3 separate regions of the Homo sapiens genome follow, and all the other regions are linked to region 1. Evidence: promoter capture Hi-C in human tissues and cell types (Jung and others, 2019). All regions are on one chromosome and are shown on one strand. Each heading gives the region's core, a stretch centred on a gene start or on the middle of the fragment in contact. The rest is flanking DNA. Distances are from core to core; before and after follow the strand shown.

Region 1 (4,958 bases), core at 26-2,525:
CACCGGGGACGCGGGCGGGCGGCGACGGGACGCGGCGGGGGCGCGGGGCGGGCGCGGCCATGGAGCAGCAGCGGCGGCGGCGGCGGCGGCGGCGGCAACACTAGCGACCGCGGGCGGACGAGCGGGCGGGCAGGGCCGCCGGGCTCAGCGGACCGAACTGCACAGCTCAGCAAAAGCGCCCTCGCCCTCCGCGCGCCGCCTCCTGCGAGCCCAAACCCACCAACATTTTTTAACGCTCCAACCCATCCTTTGAAGAAAAGCAAAAAAAAAAAAAAAAAAAAAAAAAAAAGCAAAAAAAGAAAAAGCATTGATCGGAGAGACGGGGATATATATATATATATATATATATATATATATATAAAATTTTTTTTGGCTCCTGCTAAAATTAGCAGGGCTCGCCGCGCGCCTGTGTGCCAGTGTGTGCGAGTGTGTGTGCGTGCGGGCGTGTGTGTGTGAATGTGATTACTCCAGGACTCCTCGGGCTCCGGAGACGCCATTTTCCCCCTTGATATCTCTCTCCATAAATCGGTGGCGCGGCGGAGGCGGCAGAGTCGGGCGGGAAGCGCGGGGCCGGCCGGGGCGCCCGCCGCTCGCCGCCGCCTCCGCGCGCCCGGGGGCCCCGGCGCCCCCCGAGCTAGGGCGGCCAGCTCGCGGCTCGCCGTTTGACAGATGCTCATCGCCATGGAGTTGCCGCAGCAGCACCTTTGGGGGCTCGGGCGAGCGACGGGAGCCGGGATCTGAGCGAGCGCCGGGGCCAGCGGAGCCGGAGCCGCCGGGACATGGGTGAGCACGCGCGGCGACCTTGGCCCGGGAGCCCGGGCGCCCAGCCTCCCTCCGCGCCGCGGGCCCCCGCACTCCCGGAACCGGGGGCGACGTGTGTGCCCTGCATGCAAAAGTTCACGTCGCCTTGCTGGGTCTTTGACTTTGCACCCGGCGGGAAGGGGGAGACCGGGCCGAGGGGGCGGGATGCCGGTCCGGGCGAGGTTGCAGGAGATGGGCGCGATTCCGGCGGGCCGGCGGGTGGGCGGCGATGCTGGCTCAATTGGAGTGGCTCGTTGGTGGCGGCGATGGTGGAAGCTTTGGGCTGGAGGGCTGGGAGCTTATTGAGTTTCGCCTAATCTGATCTACCCCCCCTCCGCCCCCCGCCTTTTGCACCCTCCCTCGGTCCTGCAGCCGGCTGGCGGGGCTGGCGGGTTTGGCGTTGGTGGAGTGGACTCGGGAGGGGGAGGGGGTAAGGAAAGGGGTGGGAAGGCAGGATTTTTTTTTTCTCTCTTTGTAACTTGCAGGTTAAGTGGAGCTAGAGAGCTACATTGTAACCTAGTTGGATTTTTTTGGGGGGGGAATGTATCAGAATCTAACGTGTCGTTAATAGAAAGAAGAACAGGCAAGAAGTGGTCCAGCCGGCGAAGGTTGGTGTGTGCTTGTGTTGTGCCTGTGTGTTAGTCTTTTTCTTAAAAATCTTAATCAATGGATTTGAGTCTCTTTCTTGTGCTCTCTGGTTTTGGGACTCTGAAAAGATAGGAATTCCCTTAAAAGCAGACGAATGCCTTTTTGAAAGCACGCATTGTGTGCGTTTCTAGAGGAGCCGTGGGCTTGGGAATGAACGGCAGGCTTCCCCGTTCGGTGGTTTCCAGTGGGAAATCACTCCGGAAAGGGAACCCTTCGGTATCGATTTATTGTTTTTGTCTTCCAAACCATTATCTCTTTGACCGAAATACTGTCTGAGAAGTTCCGCAGGGACAAAGTCAGGTAAACTGGACCGGGCAGATCTTTGGCAAGATGGTGATAACGGGGATGCTGTTTTCAGTGTCTGTTTGTGATGGAAGCATTGTTGGGTAATAGCAATTTCTGATCGGTAGAGCATGCTGGTTCTAAAAAAATAAGTTAACTGCCGAAATACTGTCTTCCAGCCCCCCTCCCCTGCACAGTACAGCACCTATTCCCCCCGCCCCCCCATCCAGACCGCTTACTACAAGTCTGAAATCGGATCCAACTGGAAATATTTTCATTGGAGATTGAAAGTTGTGCAATTGGAAATAGATGAGGCTAGAGGTATTGAGAGTGTGGAAGGGGAGTTCTTATTGCCCCCTAATGCTGCATTTATTCTTTATGTGTGTCTGTGTTGGATTCTCAGGGTGTGTATCTGTCTAAAAGGACTGTTGTGGGAAGGATTTCCGATTCGTTTCCGTTTCAAATAAACTGTCCTGATAATCTCACGGTTGACATCTAACGCTAAAAGGGCAATTTGTGTGTCTCTTTATCCCTGCAGAAACTCTCCTCCAAAAGGGCAGTTTATTCTGGAATTCTACAGCAGATACCTTTCCCTTCCAGCCCCTACACTCCCCCCACCTCCTGCCAACTATCCACACCTTTCCCCTTAAAGTTTAGTTGGAGTCCACTGGCGTTGATTGTTTTTCTCTTACATCTTTTTCCTTCTTTTTCTTTTCATTCCTTCACTCTTCATCCTGTTTTTCTTCTTTTTCTGTAGATTTATACTAAAAACTAATTTCTTGAAGTCTCTGTACTGTCACCAAAACTATCTGCCGATTTGGCACCATCTCTTACCCTCCTTTAGTAAATAGGTATATCTCCTGTGCCCCATCCAAACTCATCTTCACGTGCAAAGCATGTGTGTGTCGTGGGAGAAAGGGGATGGGGTAGAGAAGAGGTATTTGGAGAGGAAGGGCGGTGTTGTGTGCAGGCCACATCTTCAACACTGGACCAGACCTGGGCATTCCGGGGAGAGTTTCCTTTGCACACCCCAGCTGGGATGGGAAGGCGGAGCCAACCAGACAGGGGCGTGTGAGGGAGGAGAAAGTTTGTAGCACTTTAAGATGTAGCTAGTTTACCATCCCAGGTCACTCCCTCCCTTTTTTTCTGATTTCTCTGGCTTCTACCATCCTTAAACTCCCTGAGGGAGGCGTGAGCTCTTTTGCTCTGACGAGGGATTCCCAGGTGTCAGAGTGAAGGTGAGGTGCTGTGTTTTCCCCTGTGCTTAGTCTCATTGCCTGTTCCCAGAAAAGGGTATTAAGACAGAGTGTTTGGGGGAAAGTCGGAAGAGGAGGAAGAAATCAAGTGTGGTTAAACAGAGTATTTGCAAACGGCAGGGAATGTAGCCCCCAAAGATATGGAGACCAGGTACCCAGAGTGTTGCTTGGCACACGATTTCTCCTCCCCCGTTAAGGGGACAAAACCAAAACCAAAACAAACTATTGGTCTTGGGAAGTTGAGTTGGTGTTAGACCTGGGCTGTGGGAGTTGCTAGCCACTATAGTAACCTGAGCTGAGCTGGGGGAGGAGGTGGTGAGCGAATGCACCACCGGGAGCCAGAGGAGGGAAAGGGACTCGTCTCTCTTAGCTGGGAAAATAGATGTATCTCTGGAATAAACAAACTGGAGGTGGGGGAGGGGATGGCTTGCAGTGAACATAAGGTGGAGTGTCTGAGAGGCAGTAGTGTCGGTTAAGAAGGGGGCCACTTCTAGCTTGGGAGAAAATATCAACTGCCTTATATGTTCATGAAAGGGCTAGGCAAGTGAAGGGCTGTAATTTGATCTTTTGTATGTTAGCATCAGAATGTTACATAGGAAGGCTCTGCTGGAAGGCCCAGTTTTGGACATCACACAGGGGAACCTAGAGGTATCTTTAAGTTAACCCAACAGCCCCTGCTGCCATAAGGGCTTCTGGTCATGGACTTGCCTTGCTCAGAGTGAGCTACTTTGTAAATCACCTGACCTAAATGAGGGTTGGGGAAAAAGGAAACAGTGCTTGGGAGTGTTTTAGGATTTAGTTGAAAATGGTGAGTGGGGAGAGGCAGGAGGCAGGATTTTGCTGAAGAAGAAATAAATAGGTAGGTACTTTCCCCTGGATTCCATTTCTCCTGTTAACTTTGAATTCCTCTAGGGGATGAATCGATACTTGTCTGGCACAAAAGTGTACCTCTAGGAGAGGAGAGTTCTCTCAATGTGGTCATTATTTTTAGTTGTACTTCAATCTCTGCTCCAAAGCTTCTATATAGTATGCAAAAGGAAGCAGATGAGAAATAGCTAGCTGGATGGGGCATCCTTTCTGGGTTCCTGTGGAGACACTGAAACTTGGCTGGGCCTGGACCTCCCAGAATGCCAGTTTTTTCCTTGGAGACTTGAAGTTTAAATTGAAACCAGAAAGCTATTGAAGGCAGATCCAGCCAATGAAACCCTGTTTTCTCTGATGCTCAGGAATGGGAAATAAATAACTTTTTGCTGATGGCATTTCAAGTTGCTTCAGTTTTGCTCCTGCCAGAAGAATGGGGCAAATTATTATGAACACATTAGTATTGTAAGGAGGAGTTGCAGTGCTTTAAAAATGGGATGGTGTTATTGAGTTTGTTCAGGGACTCAGTGTATGTGAGAGTCCTACCAGAGGCTGGTGGTGGGAGCACAGGAGGCTGCCCTGGAGGGTTAGCAGCACTGGGTTGAAGAAAGGAAGCCTCACAGAGGTCTTGCTGCACATCATTTTGTCTGGTCCTGGGGTTCCTGTGAAGGGAGCAAAACAATCCAATTCCATTCCTATCCTGTGGCATATGTTGAAACCTAGTGAGTTTCCCAAAATGTTTTGGGCCATAAGTTTGGGCTTCTTTTAGAGTGGTTTTTAAAGGCAACCCAGGTGTTTTACAAACTCTTCATGAAGTTGCACATACTTTGGCCTGCCATATACCTGAAAAGTGCAGGAAAGAAAACACCAGGATGTCCACAGACTATAATTCGTGAATGCAGAAAGATGATGCCAATCTACATTTTTGCTTAGCTCTGAGTTTTCGTTTTCCCTTTTTACCGAACTTTCTATTAGATTTTGATGCCCCCCTGAGATACATCACACTGGGGCTGGAGAAGGTTTTGGAGGACTGTAATTGTAGATCACTGAGTTGAAGCTTCTGGTCCTTACTGTTCTGATTTAGAAGTTTCGTAGGTTCAGTCCAGAACA
Region 2 (4,685 bases), core at 401-2,900, 650 kb after region 1:
GAACATCAACCACAGGGCCAGAGACAGGAATGATGGACAAAGCCATGGATACTAGCGCAGGACAAAAGCCAACTCTGTCACAGCATTTTCAGGGTTTCAGTTGCACTGAGGTTATGCCCTGAGACAGCTGCTCTTGAGCTCAGATAAGACAACTCAGTCTTGAGATTCATGAAGTCTCAGTAACTCCCTCAGGGGCTGCGTCAACTTCTTGGAGGGGTATTTGGACATCAAGAAGTTGATAGAATAACAATAGGATTAAATTTGTGATTTGGTAAAGAACAAGTTCCCAGAAAATCTTCCTTCTCTTCCTTGACCCTAACTGGTAGATTACATGTTATGTAAGAAGCATATGCTTAACACTAAAGATGGGAGCTCCTTCTGCAAGGTGATGGGGGAGCACTGGAGGAGGAGCCAATTGGTTTTTATGAAAAGCAAAGGAATTATGAAAAGCACATTGCAAATCTTGTTATTTTTCTTATAATACGTTCCAAACCCAAACAAACTCAAAAAAAGTATGTGTGCAAAAGCAAACCTTAAACCATTTTGCGAATCCCGCCCTAGATTTCACATTTCTCCAGTGAAGCTCACATTCCTTTATTCAGATTCCAAAAGTAGAGATAATTTGTTCCAAATGTTTCCAAAGCCGACCAGCAGAAGGGCCTAACGATTTTTCCAGAGCTGGAGAAAACTGTGAAATTTTCTACACTCTAATGGAGCATTCAAAGTGAAAGAAAAAAAGGAGACAAGTGAGGGGAAAGGGAAAAGAAATGTTTTGATGATCTATTTGTTTATTTTGTTACGGTTATGGCTCTTTGACAAGGTCTGGGGAGAGATGCTGATTGCCAATGTCTTATTTCCTTTGGCAAGGTAGCATTTCTTCTGTATTATGGAGCAGATTATGATGGAGGAAATGGCCATACAATTATATATTTCTTGCAAGACGGTGAGGCAAGTTCATTTCAAAGAGACTGAACTTGGGGAGCCTTAGGGATGATGAGTGTGTATGTGTGCATGCTGGCAGCACCCTGCCTCTAGAGTGATCCCTGTCCTCCTCCCTAGCATATCTTCAAATAACCATCAATTTGCAGACTACAACACCCTCTACAAATAGAAAAGACTGTGTCCCAGGGAAGCTTCCATTTAGAAATGTGCTTGAGCATTTGGAGCCAAAGCTAGTGATTGACACCTGAGGTAATTTATAAGGAGGGGGTAAGACTCAGTGGAGCAAGAATGAAAGGTTTTTTTTCCCCACTTTTTCTCAATTGCCACCAGCCTGTGTTGTTATCCAATTGTTTAAAATATGTATACCTTGACTCTGCTGTGAGATTCTAAATGCCTGCAAGTCTAGAAGTGCATCTTTCTCTTCTTTGTAACTCCCACAGTGCCCAGCACAGTGCTTGACCAGAAATAGATGTTTATTTGGGAAGGAAAAAGATAGAAGGAGATACTATACATGCATGGAGCCAACACAAAGAAACAAACAAACAAAAACTTAGGTAAACTCAACTAGGCAGACACCCAGTTTAAATTCCAAGTCATCATGGTTTGTAATATAATAAATAATACTTGTAAACCTATTATCATCCTTGCTATCATGGGCACCATTTATTGAGGTTATGTTGTGTGCAGTGACAAGTGCTTTATATACATACTCTCACTTAACCTTCATAACCATTCAGCAAAGAGAAAATAATATCTCGTTCTACAGAAGAGGAAACTAAGGCTCAAAGAATTAAATAATTTTGGATTTCAGTGACTGAAGGAGGGTCTGAACCTGCTTGGTTGATGAGTCTTTGGGTGTAAGCTGAGACCTGGAAAGCAAGCAGAACTGATATCCCAGCCAGCTCATTCAGTAGGGTCAAGCAAGGAGCTAGTGAGACCAGAGCCATGACTGTGACCTCTGGTGTTTGTGTTACATCAAGACAGCCTCTTTTTTTGGCTTCCAATTGTACCCCTAAGCCTGTCCAGCTGGACTTGAAATTGGTCACAGACAATTGGTCACAGGCAAAAGAGTGTGGGTAGCTGGGGGAAAATTTATCATTAGGCTTGAGGTTGCATTTCAGAGCACACGGCCTTCTGATGGGAGGCTGGGAAAACATTTTTGTGTGTAAGTGATGATGGTGCATGGTTGCCAGAGGCTGAGGAGTGATGAACGTGGAATGTTAGTCATGCCCTATCTTTGAGTGATAGAGGATATACTAAAGAAGGCAGAATGCCTGCCCATCCCAAATAGCCCACAGGAACATGGAATATGGACTTCATGAGTTAGCACACATAGATCCTTTTTCAGCTCTGCATGCAGATGTGAGGTCATGGATGTGATGCACCCAGGCAAGTCTTCACTCTCCCGCCAGACCCTTAACACGCTGTCCCTCGGGCCATTTCCAATTCAGAAAGTCTTGTATTAGAGAAAGAGAATATTGGGCTTGAAATAAGAAGATCAAGATTCTGGATCAAGTCTTTCATTGACACTCACTAGCTAGAGAAGCCGTTGCACTGAGTCTACAATTCCTGAGCTAAAAGTTTGGGATAATCTCTGCCTTCTTGAATTTATGTGGTTGTTGTGAGGATAAATTGACACATACCACACAAACATGGAAGTGCTTCATGCATTTTCAAAAAATACGTGATTGAAAAAATATACAAATGGTGATATAACATAAAACCCAAGGAACATAAGAAAATACATAGGTAAAATTGTTGATATTTTTGTGCCCCAAATTCTGTAAGACTTTTGGATAAAATAATTGGAGACATATATGACACCATTCAACCCACAACAGCCATATTCCTAGCAAGTACTGCATCGATGTTCAGGCATCCGTCTTTAGAATATACGGACATCTAACTCCCTTTGTCTTCAGATTTGGGAACCCAGTGAAGTAAAACCTAAAGCCAAGTCTCCTGTAATATCCCCTTATACAAATACTAAATTATTTTAAAACTACATAAAAATTTTGACAAGCAGCATGGAGCTGCTCTTCCCTCAGCAAGTTTCTAAAGATGGCAAAGAAGTAACCCTCTCTTTTTTAGTTTTTACATAATTTAAAAAATATTTAATCCTGGCCGGGTGTGGTGGCTCACGCCTGTAATCCCAGCACTTTGGGAGGCTGAGGCAGGCGGATCACAAGGTCAGGAGATCGAGACCATCCTGGCTAACACGTGAAACCCTGTCTGTACTAAAAATAAAAAAAAATTAGCCGGGCGTGGTGGCGGACACCTGTAGTCCCAGCTACTCGGGAGGCTGAGGCAGGAGAATGGCATGAACCCAGGAGGCGGAGGTTGCAGTGAGCCGAGATCGCACCACTGCACTCCAGCCTGGGTGACAGAGCGAGACTCCGTCTCAAAAAAAAAAAAAAAAATTAATCCTTCAAACATACATAAAATAGAATAGTATATATGCCCTCATGTACCATTACTTGAATGATCCTTAACATTCTAGCACTCTTGTTCCATCTATTTTCCTGCACCAAAAACACAAACACAAAACACTCAGACCTGCTTTGAAATATTCCAGGAAAACAAATATATTTTACTTCTAAATATGAAGTGACCTCTTCTTGTCATTGGAGTTCAGGCCATATTTGACCTTCCTCTGTGCAGACAGCAGGTGGGGTTAACAATGAGAAGCCTCATCTCTGCTCTTGAGTGGCAGCTGGATGGGTCTAAAAAACTTAGCTATTTGTAAAGAATAAATCCTGTCCCCTTCAAAATCCATGTCTACTCTTATCTCTCTTCTAAAACTTCTCTGAAGTTAAGGGAAGCTGTAACATTCCAATCAACTAATGTGGTGGATTTACTTTGTTTTCATACTGCTGGATTTCTCCTTGGCAATCAGTTCTGGTTTCAAATACAGTTGGCCCTCTGTATCTGTGGGTTATACATCTGTAGATTCAACCAACTGTGGATCAAAAATATTTGAAAAAAAATTGAACCTGTACTAAACATGTACAAACTTCTTTTCTTGTCGCTATTCCCTATACAACATAACTATTTATATAGAATTTACATGTATTAGGTATTATAAGTAATCTAAAGATAATTAAAGTTACATGGAAGGATGTGTATAGGTTATATGAAAATACTACACCATTTTATATAAGAGAGTTGAGTATCCATGGATTTTGGTATCCGTGGGAGGTCTTGCCCAATCTCCCACAAATACTAAGGAATGACTGTATATTATTGTGCCCACTAATAATTAAGGACCAGGTCCTGGATGGTTCCTGTAGGAACTTCTTTCAAGAGACTTCCAAAATAGTAGAAGAGAGGAAATAAGACAAATACATAACCATACATCAAAGAGAATTAAAAACCCAAAGAGGAATAAAAAATTGCAAAGTTGAGTCAAAGTCTCAATCCAGGTTGACAACTGCTATCTTGGCCTGCAGAGACATTTTTGGAATTATGGTTCCTAAACTAAGTCCAGAGCTTAGATTGAAATAAAAGTGCTGGCAACCATTGGGGTGACACAATTTTGTACAAGGAGAACAACATAAGGGCTTGGTCCTGGTGACATTTGCAAGTGAATTTCCCAGCCACTTTTCTCAAGATTCAGACCGCCTTTGGGAGCAAATGCAGTCATTCAGATCCTGACTATTAGTCTTTCTATTTCAAAGTTCTTTCCTGAAGAATTCATAAAAATGCAGCTGGGGTAAATGGGCTGAAATCTCCTGAGCTACACA
Region 3 (4,901 bases), core at 966-3,465, 760 kb after region 1:
CCAGGACCGCCATGGATCTTGGCTTCAGGAGACAGGGTGAGAGAACACTCCTAAGTGTGGGACCACCAGTGCTTAGTGCTGGAAGGGCAGTAAGACAAGGAGGCCTAGGAGGAATCTGGTCTGTTTGGCTTCAGTGAGAGAGCCAAGTTCAACTTTTCTCTGTGTTTGTGTGCATGCACACGTGCACGCATGCCCATACATGTGTGTTTGTGACATCTACATGGATGGATGCCAGAGGGCAAGGAGGTACTCTGGCCACAGAAACCAGGAATGAGGAAGCATTTTAGGTTTAATCTTGGCTTTCCTTCCCAGCCCAGATGAATTTAGGAATTTGCTCTCTCAGAAACAATATGAAGCATGCACTGCATTTGGGGGCCTCCAGTGCATTTTCAGGGCTAAAGAAATGAAACGAGAAGATTGAAGAGGGAAACTTTATTTTCTAATGTCATCCCTTGGCATTTGATTTGGGATTCTGTTAATTGCTGAACAAGGAGAAACATGAAAAAAGTAGACAACAGACCCCGGAGTGCTATTAGTGATGGGAGTGTGACCTGGGAGAACTGGCTGTCCTATTCCAGGCTGACAAGGAAGATGTATCATATCTGGCTTGTTGTGGAGGAAAAACTAGCCTTTCCTAGCTTTTACCAACACAATTTCCCGTACCTGAGAAGGAGCAGAGCATGCAGATCCAAGTTTGAATACTGGCTTTGCTCCTTACCTGCTATGTGGTCTTGGGCAAGTTATTTAACTGATGTGAGCCTCAGTTTCCTTGTTGATAAAATGAGGATAGGACTATTCAAAGGCTTTGTGGTAGTATGCTAGCACTGCCATCACAAAGTGCCGCAAACTGGATGGCTTAAATAACAGAAATTTATTGTCTCACACTTCTGGTGTCCAGAAGTCAGAGATCAAGGTATTGATAGAGTTCATTCCTTCTGAGACTGTGAGGAAGATTCTGTTCCATGTCTCTCCTCTTGCTTCTGGTGGTTTGCTGGCAATCTTTGACTTTCGTTGGCATGTCAAGGCATCACTCAGATCTCTGCCTTCATCCTCACACAGTATTCTCCCTTTGTGTATGTCTCTATATCCAAATTTCCTCTTTTTATTAAGACACAGGTTATGTTGGATTAGGAGCCCACCCTACTCCATTATAACCTTATCTTAACTCATTACATCTGGGATAAACTTATTTCCAAATAAGATTATACTCTAATATATTAAGAGTTAGGACTTCAACATATGAATTTTGGGAAGATACAATCAATTCATAAAAGGCTTGTCAGAAAAAAAAGTGAGATGTATATAAAGCTTAATTACAAATTAAGTGTTCCATAAAGGAAGCTACTATCACTATTGTTATTGTTTGCTAAGCCTTCATTTGCTAAAGATTTATCTTTAACTAAGTCAGGTAGCTAGAAAAAAATTCCCTCCTGTATACATCAACCATATTGTCTAGGTTGCCCAGGATGTGTCTGTGCATGGGGATTGGCAGGTGCTAGGTTGTTGAAGCTTTTAGACTGTGTCTACACAATGTCAATATGTGGGCCAGCTGTGCACATATGTATGGTTTTATATGTGCATGTTTTGAAAACTATTTGGGAAAGTCTCCTTGCTCCAAAGTCTAAACCCACTGAAATTTAACCATGAGATTTATCCTTGTTTCAAATTAACAGTTTCCCCAGTATATTAGTTGGCAGTGTAGGTTCACTGAAGGGGAAGGGGAAGGTGAAGGTTTACATTCTGAAGATTCACTGAAAATCACTGACAAGAGGCAAACTAATAGGAGAAGAGGCATATAAATGTGTGTGATCATAGTTTTCCATGACTTGTGAGCTTTCAAAATGAAGACCCAAAGATGCAGGGAAAACTGTCTATTTTTATGCTTAGGTTCAGCAAAGTAAGGATAACTATGTAGAAATACAACTGGACAAAAAAAGGCATCATCTGATGCTAATGGACTGATTGGGGATGCCCAGTAAGGCCTGTCTGTCTAGATTCTTCTTGGCCTCTTTGAACACACAATCTTTCCGTGGATGTGTGGCAGAACTGTCTCTGGAATGGGGGTCTTATGACCTACAGTCAAAGAAGATAGGTCAGATAATTTCTTGATGGCCATCTTGATTTACACAGAAAGGCAGTGGGGGTGGGGGAAGAGTTAGAGTAATCTTTGTAGGTTTTATGGCTGGATTGGGGGAAATGGAGTTCTAGTTTCTGTGATCTTCTGTAGGGCAGAGGGGTTCTAGTTTCTATGGCTAGCCTTGGGAAGAATGAGAGGCAGAGAGAGGAGGGCAGGTCAGAGAAAGACTTTTGCTTCTGAGGGATTTGTTTTGGGGTATGTTTTTCTGAGACCCTACATCAGTCACTCAGATCTCATTTTGAATAAGGGTGTAAGGCATTCCCTCTCTTCATTTGAAATAATAATAGTCAGCTGGGTGCAGAGGCTCTTTGAAAGGGAAGGAGAAAGAAGCCTATCCAGAGTAGTCTTTTCCATAATCCAGGCCTTAGGGAGAGAAAACAGGTGCAATTAGCAGTACAAAATTCCTGGAAACACACATGGAGAGTGGGTCCCTGGAAAAAGTAAAGAGGACAAGGGAGAAGAAATGGAAGCACAGTAGAGTAACCATTACCAATGCTGCAAATTTGTTTCTATCATAAAGAAAGTTTGGATCCTCTGTGGAACCATCAGCAATGTATCTGAAGGCAGACTTTTGTGCGTGTACTGAAGAACCAACTGGAAGCCCTGTTCTAAGGTTTTCTGAGGTGTTAACAGCAATCCTAGAGATAAGACAAGTTGAGAGCTCTGGCTAGGGAGTCTGGAAGCTGAAGCTCTGCTCCTGCTTTGTGGCAATCTTGTAGGTTTTCTTATCTGTAAAGTGAGTGGATGCACTACCTTCTCCCTGTGGACCCTGCCAGTTCTGACATACTTTGATATTCTGATCCTGGCTCAGACCCCACTCCAGCCCCAAAGTCAGTAAGAAAGAAATTCTGCTGAATTCTGTCATGAAGGATAATGCTATCCCCAGCATAGGTTTCTTCCTGGCTGGATCTGAAATAGGTTTTCAGAAGGGGGAAAATAAAGAAGAAAAGATGATCTGTCCATATTTAAAAAGGAGTGAGTTGCCGTTGGATGGAAACCTGAACTGGGCTTGTGCATGCCTGTCTTTGAAGTGTGGAAAGGCACTATCATGTGAGTGAATATGATGAATTAGGCTATTTGATTAAGCAGGATGAAACTGGTGAGCCAGCTTTCTCTATTTCATTTTATCTAATGGCTGTAATCAGAAATCATGCCATCATCTCTTTAAAAGTGGGAGCCAGTGGCGAGCCGCACAGGTAGGTGTGCATCGACAGCTCTTTTTAAAGCTACTTCTCTCAGGGAGCCTATGAGAGGTGGAGAAAGTGGAGAGGTCTCTACCAACATCAAAGTCATTAGATCACGTTGTCAATTCAGCTAATAGCCCATTGGTTCAATTTCCTTTTGTAAACTTGGATTTGATAGCCAGTATCTAATACAATGACTGGTACCAAGTAATGTGCTTCGAAAATATTTGTTAAATGAATTAATGAGTGAATGGAACTATGAAGGAATGCAAAACAAATGGATGATGGGAATCTTGTAGGTAAGGGAGTAAATGTGCAGATGTTTAACTCTTTGTGGCAAATTGACATGCTTTTTTTTTTTTTTTTTTTTTTTAAGACGGAGTCTTGCTCTGTTCCCCAGGCTGAAGTGCAGTGGCACAACGTTGGCTCACCGAAACCTCCGCCTCCCAGGTTCAAGCAATTCTCTTGCCTCAGCCTCCCAAGTAGCTGGGACTACAGGCATGCACCACCATGCCTGGCTAATTTTTATATTTTTAGTAGATATGTGGTTTCACTATGTTGGCCAGGCAGATCTCGAACTCCTGACCTCATGATCTGCCCGCCTCAGCCTTCCAAAGTGCTGGGATTACAGGCGTGAGCCACCAAGCCTGGCCTGACACCATTTTTGATAGGACGTAAGAGACATTTGTGATGGAGGATCCAACTGTTTATTCTTTAGTGATAAAAACAAAGATGCCTACATTTGAGTCTGTGGTGGTCTTTTCTTCACTTGCTGTGTAAACTTGGGGAGATTGCCCAATCTCTCTCTGCTTGTTTTCTCATCTTTAAAACAAGAATAATAAGAATACCAACCTAGCTCATAGGAATGATTGAAAGATTGAATGAGTAATATGTGCAAACATTAATTGAAGTTAGTGGCCCAACAAGCTACAGATTAGGTTAGATGAGAATAGAGTTGGCCCTATGCAGATATCACAGATGGAGTAGGCAGTTGCCTTTATGGCATGATATCAAGAGGCAGATGAGGCCCTTCCCTCCCAAATATTATCCCACTAACCTGTAGTGTGCCTAAAATTCCTACTCTTAGAATTCTCTTTGAGCTAAAGAAAATGCCTAGAGAAGCCACATTAGTAACACGTGGAAAGGAACACTTTCAGGAAAGTGGTTCTTTTGGGAAATAACCACTGATTATTCTACCTTCAGAAGGCAGAGCAGTAAGCAAAGACATTAAAGCCTTGGCTTTGGAGTCACTGGGTTCTAACTTAGGCTATATAATTTTCTCCAAAATCTTAGTGTTCTCCATTATAAAGGATTAATGATATTTACCTCTTGCTGTCACCATGGGGATAATATGAGATAATGTAAGTGAAACCCCTGGCACACAGGGTTCACGCTCAGTTAAAGAGTGTGATTATTGTTAATATAATTGTTCTCTCATTGAATATGTTCAGAAGATCATTGTTATGGATAGAATGTTTGTGCCCTCCTCATTCATATGTTGAAGCCCTAACCCCATATATGATGGGTTTTGGATTTGGAGCTCTTGTGAGGTGATTAGGTTAAGATGTGGTCATTAGGGT

The links. Contacts are between HindIII fragments. The study calls those that stand out against the background at their distance.
Region 2: a fragment that was not itself captured here is called in contact with the fragment with the promoter of SETBP1 in region 1 in 1 of the 25 tissues and cell types used here (dorsolateral prefrontal cortex).
Region 3: a contact is called between a fragment that was not itself captured here and the fragment with the promoter of SETBP1 in region 1, in 1 of the 25 tissues and cell types used here (dorsolateral prefrontal cortex).

The regions. Positions count from the first base shown.
Region 1 is chr18:44,679,613-44,684,570 of GRCh38, forward strand. It overlaps SETBP1 (SET binding protein 1), which reads left to right and starts at 1,276. Exons shown (of 6, transcript NM_015559.3): 1 at 1,276-1,409. It overlaps SETBP1-DT (SETBP1 divergent transcript), which reads right to left and starts at 260. Exons shown (of 2, transcript NR_187430.2): 1 at 4-260. RefSeq lists silencers at 1-40, 711-960, 1,101-1,150 and enhancers at 3,022-3,091, 3,202-3,271, 3,322-3,411. The HindIII fragment of the contact is 9,552 bases long and covers 1-2,540 here.
Region 2 is chr18:45,328,346-45,333,030 of GRCh38, forward strand. It overlaps a transcript of SLC14A2 not described here. Among named protein-coding and RNA genes, the nearest start is that of SLC14A2-AS1, 170 kb to the right of the region's middle. The HindIII fragment of the contact is 5,428 bases long and covers 1-4,364 here.
Region 3 is chr18:45,441,436-45,446,336 of GRCh38, forward strand. All of the region lies in intron 6 of SLC14A2-AS1 (SLC14A2 antisense RNA 1), which reads right to left. It also overlaps a transcript of SLC14A2 not described here. Among named protein-coding and RNA genes, the nearest start is that of SLC14A2-AS1, 60 kb to the right of the region's middle. The HindIII fragment of the contact is 3,859 bases long and covers 287-4,145 here.